2 separate regions of the Homo sapiens genome follow, and region 2 is linked to region 1. The links are contacts of gene promoters, found by promoter capture Hi-C in human tissues and cell types (Jung and others, 2019). All regions are on one chromosome and are shown on one strand. Each heading gives the region's core, a stretch centred on a gene start or on the middle of the fragment in contact. The rest is flanking DNA. Distances are from core to core; before and after follow the strand shown.

Evidence for each region. Contacts are between HindIII fragments. The study calls those that stand out against the background at their distance.
Region 2: a contact is called between a fragment that was not itself captured here and the fragment with the promoter of SH2B2 in region 1, in 7 of the 25 tissues and cell types used here (H1 embryonic stem cells, IMR-90 fibroblasts, aorta and 4 more).

Annotation. Positions count from the first base shown.
Region 1 is chr7:102,283,581-102,288,816 of GRCh38, reverse strand. It overlaps SH2B2 (SH2B adaptor protein 2), which reads right to left and starts at 1,949. Exons shown (of 9, transcript NM_001359228.2): 1 at 1,723-1,949. It also overlaps a transcript of CUX1 not described here. RefSeq lists an enhancer at 202-291 and silencers at 1,442-1,981, 2,052-2,631, 4,409-4,593. The HindIII fragment of the contact is 12,688 bases long and covers 1,297-5,236 here.
Region 2 is chr7:102,377,517-102,382,752 of GRCh38, reverse strand. All of the region lies in intron 4 of LOC100630923 (LOC100289561-PRKRIP1 readthrough), which reads right to left. It also overlaps the pseudogene LOC100289561. Among named protein-coding and RNA genes, the nearest start is that of PRKRIP1, 16 kb to the left of the region's middle. The HindIII fragment of the contact is 5,110 bases long and covers 549-5,236 here.

The DNA of each region.
Region 1 (5,236 bases), core at 700-3,199:
GGGCCAGTCACTTCCCCTCCCTAAGTGTGTGGGGATAATAATAGCACTAAACCCACAGGATTGTTGTAAAGATGACACGAACGGCGATCCTGATGCCCTTAGCTTGGCACAAGTAAGTTTGAAACCAAAAGCTCAGCCCTGGGAGGCCCAGGATCACTTGGGTGGAGATCCCACTTCCAAGACCCCCAAGGGAAGCCCACCCCTGGGTATTTGTATAGAAGTCCTCCCTAGGAGATTCACGCTAAGTAGGGAAGAGGGATTTAGAAACTTCAGACAGATTTTTCACAACAAGGGTAAAAAGAAAAGCGTGTGCATTAACCCTTGATTACCTAGAAGCATTCAACCAAGCAGCATCAGAAGCCGGCCTGCCACGGGGTGGGGCTGTTCTTGTATGTTGGTAGGACAGACCTCTAAGGAAGTAGCTGGTGGGAAACTGTCTCTGAGACCCCCAAAAATGCCCTGATCCACACTAGCCTAAAAGAAGTGCCACCACCGCCACCACCAGACCTCTCCCAAAGCTCCTGGAGCTGAAAAGTTCTAGGTCACTCTCCCAACCTCTTCCTGCGTGGAGTGGGGAGGCCAGGAGGGAAGAGGTTGGGAGAGTTCAAGGTGGGACACAGTAGTGGGGGCTTCAGCTCAAGAGGCAGTCAAAACCTCTTGGGGAAACCACACCCCCTGCCCCCAGTCCTCCCAGAGGAGCTCCAGGGACCTGACTCTGGGACGCAATTCCTGCCGGGAGTTGCCGGTCCCTTAGCCAGGAGGCAGGCAGCACCATCCCATTTTACAGGGTAGGTGATGTTGGCTCGGGGGCATTGGTAGGGCTCCACCCAGGTCTGACAGCCTAGCCTGAGGCTCTCCCTTGCACTAGCTCGAAGTGCACGTAGATCCTGGCTTATTCGTGTTCAGAGTCTCGCCTGGGGCTGCCCGGTCTGCCTTGCGTGGCTCCTGAGAGGCTCCAGTCACTGCAGACTTCCCTCCCTGAAGGCCCCCACTTCGGGGCTGCAGGGGGCCAGGATGCGTCCCTGCCTCTGCCCGGCTTCAGCCCGCTGGGCTGGCGCGGTTCCGGCCCGCGCAGCCCGCAGGTTCATCAATGGCCGAGGCCCAAGGGCCTGAATGGAGGGCACGAACCCGCCCCTTCTTAAAGGCGCCGGCCTCTTGGGCACCCTCCACGATCCTCCCGGCAATCGGGGGCTCCGGGGAGCTCCCCGGCTGGGCAGGTCGAGAAAGGGGGGCCTGGGCCAAAGGGAGGGCGTGCCTGTGGCCTGGAGGAGGTCCTCCCCGATCCCATCCCGTGGCCCTCACCCTCATTCTAGGTTGACGCCCCCTCCCAGCGCTCCCAGCGTAGGGAAGAGACCTGGGCACCCCTTCCCCCAACCAGAGACCCCTCCTCTAAGGACCCGGCTGCTCTCGCCCCACTACCCGGCCGGGGCCCTAGCAGGGGGCGGGGGCGCAGCTGCTCCAGAGGCGGCTCGGCCCCTCCAGCGGCTCCCCGCCCCGCCCGGGATGGGGATCGGGGAGCAGATCCCAGCCGGGGGCGCCTCCCCTCCCTCGCGCGCCCTCCTCCCTCCCACCCGCGCACACAAAGACGACACGCGCGGACCAAGGCGCGTGCGGCCGCTCTCCTTCGGGCAGCGGTGCGCACACAGCGCACGTCCCCGGGGACAGACAGGGGTCCCGGGGGAAGGACCAGGGAGCGAGGAACTGGGTATAAGGAGGCCATACCTACAGGCGCGCAGCTGCGGCCGAGCGGGCTGGGGCGCCGGCTGAGCGCTGCCCGGACCGCGGCCGGGCTCCCCGGGCCCGGTGGCTCATGGCCCGCGGCGGACTGGGCTCCCTCCCTCGTTCACCGCCTCGAAGGCTCCTGCGCTCCTCGCGGTCCCGGCGCGTCCCCCGCGCGGCTCTCTGGCAGCCGAGCTCCGCGCGCTCCAAGCCCAGCCCCAGCGCGGCGCGCCCCTCCGCCCGCGAGGCGCGCGCCTCCCGGCCCCGCCCCGCCCCCGCCCCCGCCGCGAGCCCCGGCCCCGCCCCCCCTCGCGCGTCCTGGCCCCGCCCCCTCCCGCCCCCACTTGCGCCGCTCAGGCCCCGCCCCCGGCCATCCGCGGAGCCCGAGCGGCGCCGGTGGCCGGTGCTTGCTGGCTCCCCGCAGCTGCGGTGCCGAGACTGCCCGGTCCTGGGGCCCGGAGAGAGGGGTTAGGAGCCGGCTCCGAGTCGCCCCATCTGGGCGGGGGTCCCCATGTCGCCGAGCCGGCCCCAGGCCAGGCGCGGGACTCCCACTCCTCCTCGTGGAGGCCACCCCTCGAGCCCGCGGTGGTGGTGGCCCCGGGAGCGCGGAGCGTGGGGCCGGGGGAATGTCCTGCGTGGCGGGTGTATGGGACGCGGACGCCCTCGAAGCGCCCCTCGCTGACGGGTGCTTCGCGGGAGCCGCCGCTGTGGCCAGACTCTCCGCAGCAGGGACAATGGGAGCCTGGAGGAGGCCTGGATGTCGCAACGGAGGAAGTCGACGCCTGGTTCTCATAAATCTCGAGGGCGCCACCACGCCCCCTCCCTGCAGCCCTCCGGTGCGGGAAATCGCCCCCGGGCCACAGGGCGGGACGGCCCCCCTGAGCGCAGTGCCCCCACCACCCAGCCTTCGCTGTGATGGGGGCCTGATGCCACCCGGAGAGGTGTCAGAGATCATAGAGGGGCGATGAGGGGCCACAACCCTGGCACCTTCCTCACCCCTGCCTGGCTCCAGAACTCGCCTGCTTTAGGGCAGAGACCAGTGGGGCTGAGGAAACAGTCCCGCTGGGCTTTGCGGGGCATTTGTAGCCTGACCCCTGGTGCTGAGGGCACAGCGCGGGGGCTCTGGGAGGCTTCCTGAAAGAGGTGCAGGGGGCTCAGCAGGCCTGGAAGGGGTCTGAGAGGGGAGGGAGGGCTTCGGTGGGGGCAGAGGTGTGGAAAGGGCCGCTCAGAGAAGAGAGTAGTCTTGCTCCTGGAGATAGCAGGGGGGGACCCCTGGGTGTCTTCTCCCCTCATCTCCCTCCTTGTCCCCTGCCCCCACCTCTGGCAGTTCTGTCCTGGTCTCCTTGCCAGCCGGAGCTGCCTCCATCTGTCGCCCTCCCGGGCCCAAACTGACCTCTGACTTTTCCCAGAGCCATTTCCCATCTCTAATTTACAGACAAGGGTTTTTATCAAACCCTTCTTAGGGATGGAAAGGTGGGGCTTCCAGAGTTGAAGGTGGAGGGGACAGAGCCTTCACCTGCTGCCCAAAACCCCGGTGCTGCCCTCCACGGGGGCACGGAAGACAGGCAGACCCCTTCCCTGCCCCACATCTCGGCTCTGTTCCCTCCGCAGGACCAGGCCAGCAGACACTTTAATGAAAGCTTCGGCAGTGGGCCAGCCCTCGATCGGAGCTGCACACAGGCCTGCACGCCTGGTTGGGAACCAGGACACCTATGAATGAGGCCGGGAAGGGGGAGGAGGGGGTGCCCGAGAGTGGGAGAAAGGGAAGCTCCATACATGGCCTGGTTGTGGTCTCCACCCTCCTGGGAGAGGGGAGAGCCTGACCCGCGGTGGACTAACCTGGTTCAGAGTAGTGGGCTGAACTCCACTGCTGGGATGATAGCGGCCAGAGAGGGTCCTGAGATGGGAAGCCATGGGCAGGACAATAGCTTGGATCCATCCCCAGGGAGGAAGAAGTGAGGAGGGGCCGGCGGCAGAGCGCCTCGGACCCACAAGGAGGAACTGATGGAGATGTGGAAGTGGCTGTGGGGGTGGAGGGGGCGTGGTTGGCCAAGAGCAGCTGTCGCCTCGCTGGGGATAGGAATGAAGGTCAGGGAGGAAAGGTCCATCCTGGGTCCCTGAGGGCAGGAGGCTTGAGGGGCTTGGAAGAAGTCCTCATGGGGGAGATGAGGGGTGCTGGGACGGGGACCCCAAAGAAAGGCCCCTGGATACACATGCTTTAGACTGTTCAGAACTAAAATGGAGACAGAGGTAGCACAGGGGACCCTGGCCTGGTGGGCTGCAGTGGGGGACCTGGGTTTGCAGCCAGTCTTGTGACAGCTGGACAATGAGTTAATGCACCCACTCCAGACCCAGAGAATGCGCTCCTCTATCTGAGGCTGGGCTGGAGGTGAGGTGGCCCAGAACCTGTGTCTCGGGGGGTTCCCATGCGAGGCTGGTGCTCAGGGAGATTGATGGGCACGGGCTTTGCAGCCCCTGGCAGGCGGGGGCCCATGGGAAAGGGGAGCACAGAAAGGGAAGCAGAGATTCCCCAGGAACTGACGTGGACCAAGACACGTCATACACCCAACCACAGCCCGACAGGTGGTTTTTTTTTTTTTTTTGAGATGGAGTCTCACTCTGTTTCCCAGGCTGGAGTGCACTGGCACGATCTCAGCTCACTGCAACCTCCGCCTCCCGGGTTCAAACGATTCTCCTGCCTCACCCTCCTGAGTGGCTGGGATTACAGGCATGCGCCACCATGCCCAGCTAATTTTTGTATTTTTGGTAGAGACGGGGTTTCACCACGTTGGCCAGGCTGGTCACGAACTCCTGACCTCAAGTGATCCACCTGCCTCGGCCTCCCAAAGCGCTGGGATTACAGGTGTGACCCACCGCGCCTGGCCCCGGGTGGTTTTTGAATAAAGGAATGGGTTTCCCTTTTTGATGGTGCTACTTGTCCTCTCAAAAGCACTCGGACACTGGATCTGGGTTTCAGCAGAGCTCTGAATGTACTCATGGAATTCCTGGAGATGAGAAGAGGGGGAGGAATGTTCTGTGTGCCCAGCTGTGAGGCCAGCCCCAGCTCCCAGGGGTGGCACCGCAGGCATCCCCACCAGCCTCCAGTCCCTCCAGCGTCCCAGAGCACAGGGCACCAGGGTGGCTGCAACCGTGGTTTATTTCAAATGTGCAAAGCTAAATATGCAACTACAAATCTAACTCAGGAAGGCCTGCCAGTGGCCCTGAGAGGTGGCCGTGCTAGGGTGGTCCACAGCCAGTTCTGATTGGCTAGGAGACGTTCAGACCCCTCATACCAATCCATGAGTCTGAAGAGACTGGGGCTCGGGGGCTCATTAGAGACTCTTCCTTATCTAGAAACCAGAATATCTTGCTAAAGAAGAAAGCAGAAATCACATGGGTCTGGGGGCAGGGAGGGGGTAATAGAAACTGTTCCGCTGGCTGGGGCTCTCTCTCTTGGGGTGCAGTGGGGGAGGGGGCAGACTCTGTCAAGCCTCATATACTCTGCAGGGTGGGGCTG
Region 2 (5,236 bases), core at 1,854-4,353, 93 kb before region 1:
TCCTCCTCACCAAGCATGTCTTCCCCACTGCAGAGAGCTGTGGGAGATACCAAGAGGGCCTTGTCTGCATCTTCTAGTTCCTCTGCCAGTCTACCCTTCGATGACAGGGACTCAAACCATCCCTCAGAGGGTAAGTAGATGTTGCATTGTGCGGCCACTTCCTGTGTCCGTGGCAGCCTTCCCCCTCTCGTTTTCCCACATTGATGATAATATTCGTGGGACTGTGTGAATACACCAGAAGTGCTGTACTCGTTCAGCACAGTGACACCCTCCCTCCAGCTCCAGGTGTTTTTTTTTTGGTGGTCCTAGATGTTGTAGACATCAAAATAGTAGTACATCCTGTTTTTTGTTTGTTTGTTTGTTTGTATGAGATGGAATCTTGCCCTGTCGCCCAGGCTGGAGTGCAGTGGTGTGATCTTGGCTCACTGCAACCTCCGCCTTCCGGGTTCAAGCACATCCTGTTTTTAATCCATCATCCATCGTGTCTAAACCTCTCTTAAACACATTTCTGTGTTCAGCATGTACAACCCCTGGTGGGGGCTGGGAGGTGGCAGATGGGTGAGTAAAGAGTTCTTTACTTGTTGCCTGGTAAATTGTATAAACTTTTTATCTGGTGTCCCCTAGTTCTTCTACTTGGGGATTTTGTAAACAGGTCTGTGTATCCTTATTTATTACCACATATGAGGTTATTTTGTGTAGGTTATAATAATATATCTTGGTTTTTTATCTTTCCAGAAGGAAAAAAGCTAATGTCATACAGATCTGCTTTATCCCCTGGCTGTTTTAATTGGCTTTCTCTGAATCATTTCTGTTTCTGTCAGTGCTGCTGTGGTGTACCCGATTATATCAATGTTACACACTTGAATTGATATGACATGTGGTTGATGTTTCATGGGTGAAATTTAACTCTAGGTCCATATTACTCTCCCATTTATGGATGAGTGATGGATGACTTCCTGGGCCATGATTGTTTTTCTCTACAAAGAGCAGTGATCTCTCTACCCGCTAAGTGAGTAGCATTTGATTCTCTTCTTCGGAGAGAATACTAGGAAGGGTTGTCCTTCCCGTGCCTCATTTCCTCATTCTTCGTCTCCACTGCTTTCATGTGAAAGTTTTCCTTTAAGACTTTGTCCTGGCCGGGTGTGGTGGCTTACGCCTGTAATCCCAACACTTTGGGAGGCCAAGGCAGGTGGATCACCTGAGGTCAGGAGTTTGAGACCAGCCTGGCCAACATGGTGAAACACCTGTAATCCCAGCTACTCGGGAGACTGAGGCAGGAGAATCACTTGAACCTGGGAGGTGGAGGTTGCAGTGAGCCGTGATCACACCATTGCACTCCAGCCTGGGTGACAGGAGTGAAACTCTGTCTCAAAAAAAAAAAAAAGACTTTGTCCCAACTTCCTACTAACAATAAGCTCATTTTTTCTTAAATTCTGAATATGTTTTTCTCATGGAGATGGGATGCAGTGAGAGACAGAGAAACTAATTCATTAGCCTTTTATATGGAGGGAATTAGGGTGGTTATATTTAAAGAGAACGGTACTTTCTCACAGGAATACTGACTCTTTATTAGCTGATGAAGGCAATGACTTTGAAGACAGCTTGAATCACAGTGTGAAGAAGAAAGCAGCAAAACGACCACCAAAAGCAACACCGGTGAGTCAGCCAGTTTTCTTTTGTTTTTGAATCTTGTGGGGGAAGCAGCCCAGCTACTTGGGAGGCTGAGGCAGGACAATAGCATGAACCCAGGGGGCAGAGCTGGCAGTGAGCCGAGATCACGCCACTGAACTCCAGCCTGGGTGATAGAGCGACACTCCGTCTCAAAAAAAAAAAAAAAAAAAAACCTAAAAGAGGTTCAGGTGATATGGTTCATAAAAGGACAAGATTTACAAAGTGTTAAGGGACGGAAATAGGAAGAAGAGAAATTTTGAAGAGAAAAGAAGAGAAAAGGACGTTAGGATATAGGGATACAGGAAGGGGACTCAAGGACTTTTTTTTTTTAAGGGAAAAAAGTTAATAAACTTCATAATATAAAAATCAATTATTTCAGGACTAACTCAGACTCTGCCATGGAAGTGGCAGCATAAGCCTACTTGTGTGATAATGATGAGACCAAGTGTTAATGTCATTGTTACCTTTTTTTCATATTTCTGATCTTTTTATACATATTAGATGGCAAACATCCAGAGAAAGGGTCCCGAGTGGTACATCGTCATAGCCGGAAACAGTCAGAGCCACCAGCCAATGATCTTTTCAATGCTGTGAAAGCTGCCAAAAGTGACATGCAGGTAAAGCAGTGTCTCACCTCTGTTGATACCATCTCACTTTTTGTAAGGTGGTAAGGACAAGTGTCTACAAACTTGATTTGATGTGAACGTTTTAGTGAATGTAACATATCAAGAAAGATAAGATTATGGAGTGAATCCTTGGAGTGATAGAAGGGTAACCTTGAATGAGAGAGCATGTTCCTTTTTTTTTTTTGAGACAGAGTCTCTTTCTGTCACCCAGGCTGGAGTGCAGTGGCACAGTCTCGGCTCACTGCAGCCTCTGCCTCCTGGTTTCAAGCGATTCTCATGCCTCAGCCTCCCAAGTAGCTGGGATTACAGACAAGCACCACCACGCCCAGCTAATTTTTGTATTTTTAGTAGAGATGGGTTTCGCTGGTCTCCAACTCCTGACCTCAGGTGATCTGCCCGCCTCGGCCTCCCAAAGGAGGCTGGGATTACAGGCGTGCACCACTGCACCCAGCTTTGAGAGAGTGTGTTCTTTTCTTAAAGGTATCACAGGAGTGATTATGCCTTTATTGATTGATGGAGCAGATGAGGAGAGGCATTACATGACATGGGAAGGAAGCTTGCATGTGGGTGGCACCTTGTTCACCCATGTTATTTTTTTAGCTCCATCTTGACAATTATACTTTTTCCCCTGTTTCTCTTTTTTATAATTTTATTGAAGTTCTAATATCCAAAAGTGTACAAAGCTTATATGTAGTTTAAAAAATAAAAATGAAATGATTACCCAGATCTCTAGCCCCAGCTCAAGAAGTGAAACATTAATAGTGCTGTAGAGATCCTTTGTGTACCTTCTTTCTACCCTACCTCACAGTCCCCTTATTACCCATAGGTAAACACTAGGGTGAACTTTGTGTTAATCTTTCTCATCTTTCATTATAGTGTTACCACTATGAATGTGTTCTTTAATTATGTAAATGAATCCATTATTCAGGCTTCTGTGATTTAATTATTTCAGTTAAGATTGTTTGAGATTTATCCACATTAACATGTAGTTTTATAGTTTCTGGGAAAATATTTAAAATTTTCAAACATACAGAATTTTGCTAGTTATATTTTCATTATTTGATTTCTAACTTTTTTGTGTTGTATTCAGGGAATGTGGTGTTTGAAATTTATGTAGGGGCTGGGCACAGTGGCTCACACCTTTGATCCCAGCACTTGGGGAGGCTGAGGCAGGCAGATCACTTGAGGCCAGGAGTTTGAGACCAGCCTGGCCAACATGCTGAAACCCTGTCTCTACTAAAAATAAAAAAATTAGCTGCATGTGGTGGCGTTTGTCTGTAATCCCAGCCACTTGGGAGGCTGAGGCGTGAGAATTGCTTGAATCCGGGAGGCAGAGGTTGCAATGAGCTGAGATTGTGCCACGGCACTCCAGCCTGGGTAACAGAGTGAGACTCTGTCTCAAAAAAAAAAAAAAAGAAAGAAATTTATGGAGACTTAGCCTTATGGCCTAGTATTGAGTTGGTACATTCATTTTATCTTTTCTGTTTCTTTTTCCCCCTTTGCTTGATTTCCTTTGGATTTCTTGTCTTCTACAAGGACCTGAGCACATTTTAATTCCAGTTGTCTTTATAGGTTTACTAGGTTTATTGTGAGCCACTCATTTCCCTGGAGTTCTTATGTGCTGGAATCTTTGGGCTAGGTCAAACGTGGTTTTTTTTTTTTTTGAGACGGAGTCTCGCTCTGTCGCCCAGACTGGAGTGCAGTGGTGCGATCTCTGCTCACTGCAAGTCCGCCCCCCAGGTTCATGCCATTCTCCTGCCTCAGCCTCCCAAGTAGCTAGGACTACAGGTGCCCGCCACCACACTCAGCTAATTTTTTTGTATTTTTAGTAGAGATGGGGTTTCACTGTGTTCACCAGGATGGTCTTGATCTCCTGACCTCGTGATCTGCCCGCCTCGGCCTCCCAAAGTGCTGGGATTACAGGTATGAGCCACCACGCCCGGCCATGTTAGGTTCTTTTTTTAACCACAATTTAAAATTAAATGAAGGGGGCTGGGTGCAGTGCTCACGCCTGTAATCCCAGCACTTTGGGAAGCTGAGGCAGGCAGCTCACAAGGCCAGGAGCCCAACAGAGTGAACTCCTGGCCAACAGACTGAATCCCCGTCTCTACTAAAAATACAAAAATAGGCCGGGCATGATGGTGCACACCTGTAATCCCAGCTACTCGGGCGGCTGAGGCACAAGAATCACTTGAACCTGGGAGGCAGAGGTTATCATGAGCCAAGATTGCGCCAGTGCGCTCCAGCCTCAGTGACAGAGTGAGACTCTGTCTCAATAAATAAATAGGCTGGGCACAGTGGCTCAGGCCTGTAATCCCAGCACTTTGAGAGGATGAGGCAGGCGGATCACAAGGTCAGGAGTTAGAGACGAGCCTGACCAATATGGTGAAACCCCATCTCTACTAAAAATATAAAAATTAGCCAGGCATGGTGGTGTGCACCTGTAATCCCGGCTGCTTTGGGAGGGTGAGGCAGGAGAATCCCTTGAACCTGAGAGGGGGAGGCTGCACTGAGCCGAGATCATGCCATTGCACTCCAGCCTGGGTGACCAGAGTGAGACTCCATCTCAAAAAGGAAGGAAGGAAGGAAGCGAGGGAGGGGAGGGGAGGAAGAAAGGGAGGGAAAATATATATTATCTGGGCCAGTAAAATGCAGATGAAGGAAAAGGACCATGATCCTTTGAATGGAAGATGGATCCACTGTAATCCAGGTATGGGAGAATACTGAACACTAATGTCAAAAGAAACAATGTGCTGATGATCTGCAAGGCATTTCACAGAAGACAAAGAACACAAACAATGGAGAGGAGACTAACACAATCAAATACTGGGAGGTGAGGAAGGTAGACAGAATTCATGATTTTGGAATGTGCACAGTTTATCATCAGACATTCTGAGAAAGAAGGAAGTGAACTATCTCACTGGTACTGCTATGTTGTC